4 separate regions of the Homo sapiens genome follow, and regions 2, 3 and 4 are each linked to region 1. Evidence: promoter capture Hi-C in 16 types of primary human blood cells and fetal thymus (Javierre and others, 2016). All regions are on one chromosome and are shown on one strand. Each heading gives the region's core, a stretch centred on a gene start or on the middle of the fragment in contact. The rest is flanking DNA. Distances are from core to core; before and after follow the strand shown.

Region 1 (3,376 bases), core at 600-3,099:
GCGACCAGCCCGAGCCTAGTCCTGCAACCTGGACAGCTCTGGAGTCAGCCACCCACATCCCGCCTCACCAAGCCTCGAGGGTCCCTGAGGTCCCGGAGCTAGGCCCAGTGATCCCTCGAGCTGGGGGCTGGGTAGGAGGAGGGAGGCCCGGATTCCTCACTACACCCGGAGCCGGCGCCGCAATGCTGACCGCGAGACCCGCACCCCTCCAGGGCGGGAAGCAGGTTTGGTCACGGGCCCCTGAGGAGGAATCGTAGCTCTCCGAGCCCAGGCCTAGTCCTCACCACCCCACTCCACCACCCACCCTCCCGCCTTGTCCCGTCCTCCTCGCCTTCAACACCTCCCAACCCCCAGTTTCCCTGTGCTCGCTGGTCTTTCCCAACTTCCGGAAAGACGACTGCGGAGGGACTCCCCCAAAGCGACCGCTGTCAGCCCCCCAACTCGGCCCAACTTCCCGAGATTCCTCCCGTGTTGCTCCCAACTCCCACCCACTCCCCCTCGGCGCGCCCACTCCCCCTCGGCGCGCCCCCTCCTCCTCTGCGCTTTCATCTTCTCTCCCGGTTCTCTCTCTCTATCCATCTCTTCCCGCTCAGCATCCCCCTACCCCCCGCTGCCCACGCTTCTTCCCTCGGCTCCCACCACCCAGACCGTCTGGGCCCCCAAGACTTGGACCACGCAAAACTCTAGGACTGTCCAGGATGGGGATGCAGTCGCCACAACCAGATACACACGCACTCACACATACACCAAGGGCTACACAGACACACACCGGAGAAGCAGGCAGACACTGTGTCCACTCTAACAGGCTGACAGACAGTCGTGCACGCACCAACACACGCTCAGATGGCCCCACACACCCCAACACCCTCTCACAGTAACACCGACACCGTGCCAGGCGCACACAGCGACACACGCTGACAACACGCACCCACACACATTCACACACGGTTCCGGTCCGGCCTCTTTGATCTTGCCCTGCCAACTTGGCGAGCCCCCCGCTGTACCTCCCCCTGCCCCCCGCTGCTCTGAGCTGCGCAGAAGGGCCCTCCCGACCCGCCGACGGCCCCGCTAAGGGCGCGGGTCTCGACGCGCGTCCATCCCGGTGTTCCCCGAAGCGTCGGCCCTAAGTGTCGGTAGAGGCCGCGGGGCCCCGCGCGGAGATCGGAGCCCCGGGGAGCGGCAAGCAGCCAGCGGGAGCGCGGCGCGGCCGGTGCACAGCTCCTCCGCCGGGCGGCGCGGCGCGGCCCTTCGGGGGAGCACCGCCCGCCGAGCCCCTCGGCCCAGGGAAACGCCAAGTTTGGACGCCGCGCACCCCCTGCCCCGTTGGGGCCCCCGCCCAGCCTCGGCCCGGCCTCCAGCCGCGCTTACCGATGTGGATGATGGAGTCGGCCCGCACCGACACGCACTGGCATATCCAGGGGAGAAGCCACAGCGTCAGCGCTTCCATGTCCCCCGGGCGCGCGGCTCATCCACCCGGGCCCGGGGCGAGGCCGAGGGCAGCGCGAAGCGGGGAGGCGCTGGTCCCGGTGCAGTCCCGGGCCGCTCCCCGGGAGAGCCGAGCCCGCCCGTGCGTCTTCCCCCGCGCGCCCGCCCCTGCGCCCTGCGCCCGCCCCAGCCCAGCCCAGCCCAGCCCAGCGCGGTCGGGCTCCCGCTCCGGCTCCGGTGGCGGCTGCGGCGGTGCTGGCAGCTTGAGCCCAGGCCGGCGCGGCGGGGGCGGCCCGCGGCTGTGGCAGCGGCGCTTCCCGCGGCTAGAGCGGCTTCGGGGGAGGCTGAGGCGGTGGCGGCGGCGGCCGGGCCGGCGTGGCGGCTCTGGGCTGGCTGTGTGTCTGAGCCCCGGCGAGGAGCGAACTGCGGAGGACGCCCCCTCCCCTCCCCCTCCCCCTCAGCTCCGCTCCCCCTCCCCTCCCTGCCCGCCTCCCTCCCCTCCGCCCGCCTCTCTACCACGTGACTGCGGAGCCTCAGCCTCGCCGCGCGGCTCTCGCCCGCTCGCGGCTCGGAGGGGGCGCCGGGTGCTCCACGCTCCCGGCTCGGGGGACGCTCGGAGACCGGCACAGCGGCGGGGACCGGCCTGGGCTGCGGCGCGCCGAGCTCTGACGGTTCGGGCCTCCTTCTCCGGTTCGCCAGGGGCGGGAGAATGGAGGAGGGCCGGCCGCTAACTGCCCTCGAGGGGCTCCCGAAGCGCCCTGGCGACCTCAGCAGCCGCGCGTCTCGGGTCATGTCCCCGGCCGAAACAGACCGTTCCTCGTGGAGTGGGACCTGGGGAGCAAGAAGAGAGACCGGGGCGGGGCGCCGGGCCAGGCCCCAGGACAGCTGGGGAGCCAGAGGGGGCCGGCCGCCGCAAGCATCTCAGAGTAGAGCCCGGGCCGTGGGCTCGAACCCTGGCTGGCCGCGCGGACCTCGGCGGGCGCCCATCCCCCGCTCCATGGGCAGCGCGCTCAGCCGGGAGTCGGGCAAGAGGCTCGGACTCTGAAGCCCAATTCATGGCCGGAAACCAGCGCAGCCGTGACCGCGGCGCCTGGACGTGAGGAGCCTTCCAAGCGGCCGGCGGGCTCAGACTCCGACCCTGCACGGAGCTTTCATGTGCGAGCCCGGGCGAAGAGCCCGCTCCTCGCGGCCACAGCGGAACAGGGCTCCCTCCGCCTCCGGTGCCTGCCTCGGGCCGGCCACCACCAAAGAGAGCGTTAAGCTGTTGTGGGCTCGTGCCTGAAAGGGACTGGGCTCCATGTGGCACCCCCAAGATTTCGAGGAGACAGCTGAGCTTCCTGGGGTCTGGGACCTGGCAGAGCCTCGTTCAAAAGCTGCTCCTCCAGCAAGCCTGGGAACGTCCCCGGGCCCTGTTGTCCGCGGAGGGGCCCCAGGACTCCCGCCACGCACCAGGGGGAGAGGCTCCCACCACAGCCCTTGCCCAGAGCTCCCAGCGCAGTGGGCGAGGCAGACACCCAACCAAGTCATCTTTTAAATGTTGGGGGGGGCTATGAATGAGCTGTGTATGCTCAGATGCCTGGGCTCTGAACCAGCCTGGGAAGAAGAGCAGGGATGACTTCCTGGAGGAGATGACAGTTGTAAAGACTGAGTGGAGGTTCCCAAGGGAGAAAATAAGGCTTCCAGGCATTGAATAGTGGTGAGCCAAGGCAAAAAGAAAGAAGTGTGTGTCTGTATGTCTGTCTGTCTCTCATGTGGCCAGAGCCAAAGAGTAAGCATTGGTAGATTTCACTTTGGAAAGAAAGATTGGAGAGGATGGGCTGTGCAGAGGGGGCCAGTGGAGGCCCATAGCACTGTGAGGGAACCCTGGGTGGGCCAGCTCAGCTGGGCAGGGACAGCCTGTTGGAGCGGAGAAGCTGGATTGCAGAAGTATCAAGGAATCCCATGAGCCAGC
Region 2 (3,401 bases), core at 550-3,049, 2.0 Mb before region 1:
TGTTATGGAAAGCATATAGTAGTTCTGTTGAAGAAGAGAATGTGGTTTAATGCATGATTTTAAGTATGATTTTCCTTTCCCATTAGGTGGAATTTAGCCATCTAGACAGTAAAGAACACACATGCCTCTTGAGTTGCTCACCTCTGTTTTCCCCTGCCTACAGTGGTTTGGAAGACATAGATAACTATGAAATAGGACATTTTGGGTGAGGTTAGGGTCTAAAGTTAGCATGGAGTTTAAAAATCTTGTATAGTTGCCGTTGAGAAGCCAGATGGTGACTTAAGTTTAACCTGGTTATCTTTTCTTGCAGCTTTGGTTGAGTACCAAAGAGTTGGTCAGTTCAGAGAGTTGGCTTCTGCAAAAAATACCCATTTTCAGATAGTAGTATATCACTGTTGGTAATTTGTTCATACTGTGCCAAGCATGTATAAACTGAGACTTACTGAGAGAGGAGGAGATTCATGTCTTTTCCTATATGTTCACTTTGTAAGTATATTTTTATAGAGTGGAATGATGGGTGGAATCACCTATACCATTAATGTTCCTCTAGCTCTGGAAAGTAATTTTACTTTGTCTAAATTCAAATATATATGTGTTGGGAGGCTGAGATGGGAAGATCACCTGAGCTCAGGAGTTGAGGCTGCAGTGAGCTGTGATAGCACCACTGCATGCTGGCTTGGGTGACAGTGAGACCCTATCTAAATATATATATATGTATATATGTGTATATATATATACATATACATATATGTATATATATATACACACACACACGTGTATATATATATTTATTAATTATACACAGACACGTAATGTGATTGCCTCAACTATTCCCTCCTCCACCATCTCCACTCTTTTCAGGTACAGAAGTTCATTTATTTACAAACAGTTTTAAGTTCTGAAAGGCTGTTCATAAATTCTTTTTGTAAATAATCGCTAACATTTTCCTTTGGTGTCAGGCATTGCTGAGAAACTTTCATTTTGATTGGTTGCCTTGTTCATATGTACAGAAGCTTATGAGTTGAAAGTAGAGGAGTTTCTGTATGTGGGACCTGTGAACCTAGGCATTTACTGTCTCCTGGTCCTAGGACCCTGCTTTGCTTAGTGAAGTTTGCTCTTCAGAAAGATTCCTGTAACCTTCTCCCACTGGAAATGACTCAAGACCAGGAATATCTAATTTTCAGGACATACACTTTTTTGTCCCAACTTTTTTTTTTCTTTTTAAAAAGTGCTTTATGTCCAAAGGATTACTTAATTCCCCTAGGATGAGTTAATTCAGGCATTACTGTATCAATAGTATTTTATACAGTTGTGGAATTGGGAGGGGACTTCATTTATCTCCCCCTGGTGCACCTGCAACTCTGAAGGGTCCATTGTATCTGGGGGAAACAGAATGGAATGTAAAAAATGTTTAGTTGATTTATGTGAGGGTCAGGTCAAGAACAGGTTAAACTAATTACGATAATAGGGGTTAAAATAGAGCAGTGGTTCCACAGTGTTTGTGTGTATCAGAATCACCTGGAAGGCTTTATTAAAACAAGATCTCTGGGCTCTACAGAATTGCTGAGCACTATATCTAAGGTAAGGCCTTAGAAAATCTATTTTTAACAAGTTTCTAGGTGTTATTGATGCTACTGCTGATCAGCCTTGGTCAGGGTAGTTAGAAGTTTATGATTTTGCTAATTCAAGAGTCCTTTGTCTTTTGTAGGAGGAGTTAAATGTAGAGATCCAGGGTTTGGGAGTTCTCTGAATAGGGGTATATAAGTGCTCCTGAGAGAGAATGAAAATGAATGCTAAGAGAAGGAGGATAATGTGGAATGTGCTGAAATTTATTTCCTATCTCTTTCCCTGATGAAAGCATCCTTATTTGGGGTTTACTTTTTTATTTTTATTTTATTTTTTTTTTCTGAGACAGAGTCTCACTCTGTTGTCCAGGCTGGAGTGCAGTCGTGCAATGTCAGCTCACTGCAACTTCCACCTCCCGAGTTCAAGTGATTCTCCTATCTCAGCCTCCCAAGTAGCTGGGATTATAGGCACCTGCCACCACACCCAGCTGATTTTTGTATTTTTAGTAGAGATGGGGTTTCACCATCTTGGCCAGGCTGGTCTGGAACTCCTGACCTCAGGTGATCACCTGTCTCAACCACCTAAAGTGCTGGGATGACAGGTGTGAGCCACTGTGCCTGGCTGGGGTTTACTTTTTTAAATGGAAGTTTTATATGGATGTTTTCAAACATCATGTGTAGAGAAAACAGCATAATTAATCCCTGGTGTTATTTACCACTTACCTTTTAATAGTTTCAGTTTTAACTGTCACACTCCCTTTTTTGAGGGGTGTTTTGATATTTAATGGAGTGTTTCAGATTTTCTTACTTTGTGATTCTATCTTTTTTTCTGTATTTATCAGTTGTGGTTCTTCTATAAAGAAGATTTTCCATCAATTTTTTGGTTACTTTGAAATACAAGAAGAGCAGGATACATGCTTATTTCTTTTATCAATTTGTAGAATAAGTTGTCTTTGCAGTAAGGCTTATTTTTACTATTTATAGGAGTAGAAGCAGTTTGAGGCTTTTAATTTTTTAAGAGAAGCTTTAAAAAATGAAGTATAACTTACATACAATAAAATACATAAATCTTAAATGATGTACTCTTGGTGAATTTTACACCATCCAGATCAAGTTGCCAATGTCTCAGTCAACCCCTTTTCAGTTAGCCCGCTCTTGCAGAGTTAGTCTCTGTCCCAGGGATTTCCAACGTATGAATTCCAGATCGGCAGAATCAACATCACCTGGAAACTTGTTAAAAATACTTTTTCCTAAGGCCTTACCTTTGATATGTTGGTTCAGAAACTCTGGGAGTGGAGTCCAGAGATCTTGTTTTAATGAAGTCTTCCGGGTGATTCTGATACACACAAGCACTGTGGAACCACTGCTGTATTCTAACACATATTATCATAATTACTTTAATCAGTTCTTGACCTTACTCTCACATAAATGGATCAACTGAACATTTCTCCCATTCCATTCTGTTTCCTCCACATGCACTGGATTTTTTTCCTGTGCCCCTGGGTGAGAAGTCTTGCTGCTGCTTCCCCAGCAGTTTAAGGCTTTTGCTTCAGAGGACAGAAGGAGGCAGGGAAGTGAGAGGGTTTGTGTTTGTTCCAGTGCAGGCTTTCATCACCTCCTGCATGCCTGTGCCGTTAAGAGGGGGCTTTCTTATATGTTTCTCTTGAATGCTAGGTTGAGGCCCATGAGGAAGAGCTTGCTGTTGTGCTAGTCCACATTTGGCTTTTAAGCAGACATTAAAATGTTAGCTTATTACTCCTTTTTATGGTGGTCATTTCTGTCTTTTATGCTCAGCCAAAAGTGAAACTGTTAAATGTCCCGTCTCTCCTGGGAGGG
Region 3 (3,077 bases), core at 280-2,779, 2.1 Mb before region 1:
CAGAATAGGAAAATGTATAGAGACAGCAAGTAAGTTAGTGGTTGCCAGGGGCTGGGAGAACAGGAGTTTGAGAGGTGATTGCTACTAGGTATGAGGCTTATTTTGGGGATATTGAAAACATTCTGAAATTAAATAGTGGTGATGATTTTATAACTTTTTGAATATACTGAAAACCACTAAATTGTACATTTTAAAAGAATGAATTCTATGGTGTATAAATTATATCTTAATAAAAATTAATAATTAATTAATTTAGTGAATTAATGGAAAGTGCAATGGGAACTCAGAAAAGATGAAACTCAAAAGTAGCAGGAGGGATCCAGAAAGGCTTCCCTGAGGAAGTGACACAAGTTCTCCCCTTCTTAACTCTCAAGGCCCTGAAGCATAGTACATGCACAATTATTTTCAAAACTAATGTCTCAGCAGAGTAGAAAGGTCCTACTTCACATCCTGATACTCCTTCCCAGTGCCTTCCTCTCCTCTATACAGGCTTTACGTAATAATCACAAAATCCCCCAGCCCCATCTGTTCACCTGTTTTTCAGTAGAAGCTTCTTCTACACCTAAATACATTTTTAATTGTCATTTTTAAATCAATTTCTAACAGACTTTTTGCAAAAAATTCTCATATTTTCCCCATGTTCAAGTTTGGAGCTGGGTGGGAAAGGTTGCTTATAGGGATGTAAAGGAAGGGGGCTACTAGAGACTGAATGTCAGGGTGTAAAGGGCATTATTCCGTGACTTGTAGCATGGAAGCATGGTGACGAAGCACTATGCTTCAGCATAACACAGCCACAGAAGCAATGCTGGTAAGGATGTCATGTCCCAATGCCAGGATCCATTAGGAGTGTATTGATCTGAATAGGAGACAGAAGACAGAAACAATCCACTGGCAGTGGTGGAAGCCTCCAGGCGGATGGATGAAGGACAGATTTGGAAATGGGCAGTGCTGGGAGGAACGGAATCGTAACTCAAGGTCCTGAAGCAGAGAATGTTCACATTTAGAACAGGAGGTGGCTTCCCCTCTGGATTTCTGGACCTTCATATTGCTGAGGTTTGAGAAAATCATACCCTTTGGGGTATTTTTGAGATGAAGGTAAAGGCACTGATTGAAGGCCATTGGAGCTTAAGTGATAAATGAAAGGGAAGGAATGATATGACATGAGACTAGACAAGAGACAGGATCCAGAACACAGAAACCCTTACAGGCCAGGTTGAGGATTTGGGGCTGACCGGGTGCAGTGACTTGAGCCTGTAATCCCAGCACTTTGGGAGGGCAAGGCAGGAAGATCCCTTGAGCCCAGGAGTTCGAGACTAGCTTGGGAAACACAGCAAGACTCTGTATCTACAAATAAAAAATTTAAAAAATTAGCTGGGCATGGTGGTGCACACCTGTAACCTCAGCACTTTAAGAGGCCAAGGCAGATGGATTGCTTAAGCCCAGGAGTTCGAGGCCGTAGTAAGCTATTATTGTGCCACTGCGCTCCAGCCTGAGTGATAGAGGGAGAGGTTGTCTCAGAAAAAAAAAAAGGATTTGGGGCTTGATAGATGCTCAGTGTAATTGGAGGTATTAAAAGGGTTTAAGCAGGAGCTGATATAATCCAATTTATATTTTGGCATTGTGGTACAAAGAACCATCCATCCATCCAGGTGGAGGGGATGCAGGGAGTCCAGTTGAGGCTATTTATGGACAACCAGGTGAAAGATGGTGATGGTTTGGACAGTAGTGGTGGTAGTGGAAATGGAGAAAAGAGTAACAGAAGGTGACTGGGCTTATGGGGAAAGGGCATGAGTTCTGTCTGGCATTGTTATGGTTGATGTGTCTTTGTGACAGCCAAGTGGAGATTTAGAGAAGGTGATTGAATATGAGAGTTCGCAGCTCAGAGAAGTCTGGGTGGGGATATAGATGTGCAAGTCTTTGCTATGGAGTTGGTAACTGAAGCCAGGTTTCCCAGGAAGAGGTTTTAAATGGAAGAGAGAAAAGAGCCTGACTGAGCCTTGAGGAATCCACTATACTGAATAGCCTGGTGGGGAGGAAGAGTCTGCAAGAGGGACCAGAATGAGTATCCAGAGCACCAGGAAGAAAGCCTGGAGTGAGAGTTTCCCAAAGTATAAGGAAGAGGTTATTTCAAGAAAAAAAGAATGGTCAAGTAAAGTAAGGGTGGATGAATGCCCACTGGATTTGGTGACTTGGTGGCCTTCATTGACCTGAGCAAGAGCTTTCAGTGAGGGGAAGAGAATAGAAGCCAGACTGGAAAGATAAGTGCTTGTTTTGCCAGTCATGGAGGCACACACCTGCAATTCCAGCACTTTGGGCTGAGGCGGGAGGGTCATTGGAGGCCAGGAGTTTGAGACCAGCCTAAGCAACATAGTAAGACACTGCCTCTATTAAAAAAAATTTTTTTTCATAGAAATGAAGTGTTCGTTTTGAGAAATTTTGACTGAGATAGAAGAGAGAAACAAAAAAACACAAGGGAGGGGAGGTCCTGTATGCTTTTGTTTAACAAAGTGAAGCTTGAGCAGGTTTAAATTTTCTTGGGAAAAGTTGATTGAGAAGTAATTGAATATATGGGAAAGATAAGCAATAATTAATGGCATAGGGTTCTGAAAAGAGGAAGGGGGTAGGACCCCAGGCAGCAGGAGAGAAAGGCTGAAGGGGGCAAATTTTGATTTATTTGTGGGATTGGTGTTAGAAATTTGAGGAAATTCCCGTTCAATGACTTCAATTTTCTTTGAGAAGATGAAAATCTGCTGTTAACAAAGCAGGAAATAAGATTGTCAGAAGGTTGAGAGAATAAGAGCTTAAGATAATAGTTGAATTTCACGGAAGAGAATTGCAGATGCCACATAAGCACAAGAAGAGATGTTCAACATCATTTGGCATTAGAGAAATGCAAACTAAAACCACAATGAGAGAACTGCTTCCAGGAAAACGAAATAGAGGAACCCTTCCCTATTCCTCCTGCTAAGTGCCACTAAACACCCTCGACGTTTTATGTATAAAACAAACACAGGCGACTGAAAGACGCAGAGAAGGAAAAGCTGCCTAGAGATCTCAAGATGGAAGAATGACACAGT
Region 4 (3,174 bases), core at 598-3,097, 2.1 Mb before region 1:
GCCAGCTGGCCTGGAACTCAGCCGTCTCTCTGGTGCTCTTCGTGTGGCTGTCTTCTGCCTTCTGGGCAGCTCTGCCCCTTCTGGGTTGGGGTCACTACGACTATGAGCCACTGGGGACATGCTGCACCCTGGACTACTCCAAGGGGGACAGGTGAGGTGGGAGGAGCAGCTTCGAGGCTCCTATCCATGGGAATCTTGGCTTTGAACTCCTATGACAAGGGTGCCCCAGCTGAAAATCCAAATGGGGAAATGTCAACGTTTGCCAGACAATCTCAACTTCTTAATCATGATACCCACCTGCAGGTGGACAGTGGGACTGGAAAAAGCCTGTTCTGAAAACTGGCCAGGTGATGGGAATGCTGTGAAAATTGGGACCCAGAGTTGAACCCAAAAAGAGACATCATACAGGGAGCCATTGGCTTGTGTCAGTGGTAACAGTCACCAAGCCGCACCACCTCTTAGCCATCTTCAGCACAGTCGACCATCATGGCTCTGACCTCATCAATTTCTAGAGGGAGCCACGCCCTTGGTACAATAGATTCAAAGAACATTAAGGTCCTTGCATTGGGAGGGAATGCCCTGAGCATACGCTATGAGGCAATCCCTGGAGAAATAGGACAGAATGCATGAGGGTCCCCACCCTCATGGGGCTCGTGTTCTGGTACTGCCCCATCAGGAGGCTCTAGGGAGACAAGGGCTTAGGGGGATCCTTTAGGAACTGCCTTGAGGAATGGTCACATGGGCTCCAGCCCCTCTTGCTTCCACCAGAGCCAAGTTGCATTCATCTGCTTTACCCATGGTGTTTAATCATGAGGCATCTGCACTGGATGACAGGCTTTCCAGGTGATGCATTCTTGAGAACGCTGGGCCTGGTCCAAGTGTCCCTCCATGGCACTCCCCAGCCAGGGTCCAGTCCTTCCAGCTGCCCCTCCCTGGTGGACGGCTCCAAGGTGACATAGTCTTCCCTTCAGAAAATGGGAATCTGTCTCCCTGGGACTCCCACTATTCCCTTCACCTCCCCATGACCACTACCTGGGAACCCAAGCTCTTCTGTGGTGCCTTCAACCATTTCTTCAGTGACACAGTATCCAGTCTTCTTGTTATCCCGTCTCCTTTTAAAACCTTTGGGCCTAGAATGCTCCTTGAATGTTCCTTTCTCTTGGCCCACTGACATCCCCACCATTGGGTGAACATGTTTCCCAAACTAAAATTTCCCATTCTTCATGCTTGGGGGACAAACAGGAAAGCAGGGCTGAGCACTTGAACAAGAAAGAGGCCTCTTCCTCCTTGTAGCTCCCTGGCTCCTAAAGGGAGTTCACCTGGGACCCGGGAGCAACCACACTGCGAGCTTGTCTGAATGGGGCATTTCCCCACAACCGATCATCTAGGGCAGAGCTGGTGGGTCCTTGAGGGCAGCTGGCCATCCCTGAGAGCTAACCCCAATCCTCCACCCGCTCTCCCTGTAGAAACTTCACCAGCTTCCTCTTCACCATGTCCTTCTTCAACTTCGCCATGCCCCTCTTCATCACGATCACTTCCTACAGTCTCATGGAGCAGAAACTGGGGAAGAGTGGCCATCTCCAGGTAAGGACCCCCTTCCGGAGTGTTATCTGATGGTGCAGCGCAGCTCCAGGCTCTTGGTGTCCCGAACAAAGAATTGGATGTGACACACACAAACAGCAAAACAAATATTCATTGCTTTTGCAGCAAAAGCTTATTCAGCACAGTATTACACTCTCAGAGAGGGGAGGGTGGACCAATCTCTGCGAAGTGAGATCAGCACCAGTTTGGTGTATTTTGGGCTCTTTTATATGTTTATTTTTCTTCTCTTCCCAAGGCTGCCTAATCTCTAGCCAGCATCTGCCTTTTGATTGATAGGTGGGTTGCTTATGTTACTTTGGCCCTTGTGTGCTTGCCTGTCACCTCCATCCCATAATCTTAAGTACATGCATGATATGCAGTCCATATGCATCAGCTTTAATAAGCTTATTATCATACGGGGTCATTTTAAGGATACTTTTTCTCTCTAATGCACATGCGCATCTCTGAGGAGCTGCCCCTGACAGGTTTGGTCCAGACCTAGCTGGCCACAGGAGCTTCTTACTCACTTTTTAATCTTATTTGTGTTTTGGTTGCTCAACTTCTGTTTCTTGTCTTGCTTCTTGCTCACTGCCTCTTCACCTTGCTTCTGCTTCTACTCATTCCGCCCTTTAACCTCCAATTCCCTCTGCTATTCTCCTGCCTCAAGAGCAGCAGTAATTTCTCGTTTCCTCTCAGGGACACCAGGGAATATGAACAATGTGACAGACAGCAACCAGGGGTTTTCTGCGTTTTCAGTGATCAAGAGAAAATCCAGCTTGTGCACAGCATAGGATGTTAGAACTGGAAACCACCCTCCCTTTGCTCAGATCGCCAAGGCCTGGGGAGCAAGGATCAGGACTGCTCAGATTCACCCAGACCCCGTAACTCTGGGGACCAGGGCTCCCTACTGGACACATCCGTGCTGTTCCACTTAACTCTTGCCAAGGATGTGAGGTTTGGCACAAAGTTACAGGCTTTTTAAATGCTACTTTTAAACCGCTTTGAGATGTTTAATTTAATCACAGTCACAGGGTGGTGCCCAAAAGATAAAAATCAACCTATAAGCACATTTGTCCAAGAAATACAATACTTCAAAATAAGCCCTCCTGGCCATTTTTTAGTTTCTGAATTACTATTCCCTTGCCACGGTTTTATTTTAACTTGGTCACCTGGATGACCTCTAGCAAAGGAGTCGTAACAAGCAACAAAGATTAGAACAAATTCAGATCTTAATATTATTTCTTTGCAACCACTCTATGAGGAAAGAGGTTTTCTTTCTTTTTTTTTTTTTTTTTTTTTTTTAGGCCGAGTTTCACTCTTGTTGCCCAGGCTGGAGCGCAATGGTGTGATGTCGGCTCACCGCAACCTCCGCCTCTGGGGTTCAAGCGATTCTCCTGCCTCAGCTTCCCGAGTACCTGGGATTATAGGCATGTGCCACCACACCCACCTAATTTTGTATTTTTGGTAGAGACGGGGTTTCTCCATGTTGGCCAGGCTGGTTTCGAACTCCTGATCTCAGGTGATCCGCCCGCCTCCGCCTCCTAAATTGTTGGGATATAGGCGTGAGCTGCCGTGTCCAGCCTTTTTTTTTTT

Evidence for each region. Contacts are between HindIII fragments. The CHiCAGO score rates a contact against its expected background, and 5 or more counts as called.
Region 2: a contact is called between a fragment that was not itself captured here and the fragment with the promoter of GRID1 in region 1, in 4 of 17 cell types (total B cells, naive CD4 T cells, naive B cells and 1 more). The highest score is 8.7, in total B cells.
Region 3: a fragment that was not itself captured here is called in contact with the fragment with the promoter of GRID1 in region 1 in 11 of 17 cell types (naive B cells, activated CD4 T cells, M2 macrophages and 8 more); the score reaches 15.6 in naive B cells.
Region 4: a fragment that was not itself captured here is called in contact with the fragment with the promoter of GRID1 in region 1 in 7 of 17 cell types (non-activated CD4 T cells, naive CD8 T cells, naive CD4 T cells and 4 more); the score reaches 14.0 in non-activated CD4 T cells.

Annotation. Positions count from the first base shown.
Region 1 is chr10:86,364,946-86,368,321 of GRCh38, forward strand. It overlaps GRID1 (glutamate ionotropic receptor delta type subunit 1), which reads right to left and starts at 1,850. Exons shown (of 16, transcript NM_017551.3): 1 at 1,369-1,850. The coding sequence starts at 1,447. RefSeq lists silencers at 1,159-1,308, 1,339-1,538, 1,769-1,818, 1,839-2,228, 2,339-2,548. The HindIII fragment of the contact is 11,562 bases long and covers 1-3,376 here.
Region 2 is chr10:84,357,924-84,361,324 of GRCh38, forward strand. All of the region lies in intron 1 of CCSER2 (coiled-coil serine rich protein 2), which reads left to right. Among named protein-coding and RNA genes, the nearest start is that of CCSER2, 31 kb to the left of the region's middle. The HindIII fragment of the contact is 1,576 bases long and covers 1,012-2,587 here.
Region 3 is chr10:84,272,004-84,275,080 of GRCh38, forward strand. No RefSeq gene overlaps it. Among named protein-coding and RNA genes, the nearest start is that of LINC00858, 6.4 kb to the right of the region's middle. The HindIII fragment of the contact is 1,963 bases long and covers 549-2,511 here.
Region 4 is chr10:84,252,860-84,256,033 of GRCh38, forward strand. It overlaps RGR (retinal G protein coupled receptor), which reads left to right. Exons shown (of 7, transcript NM_001012720.2): 4 at 1-151; 5 at 1,467-1,584. Among named protein-coding and RNA genes, the nearest start is that of RGR, 9.4 kb to the left of the region's middle. The HindIII fragment of the contact is 272 bases long and covers 1,712-1,983 here.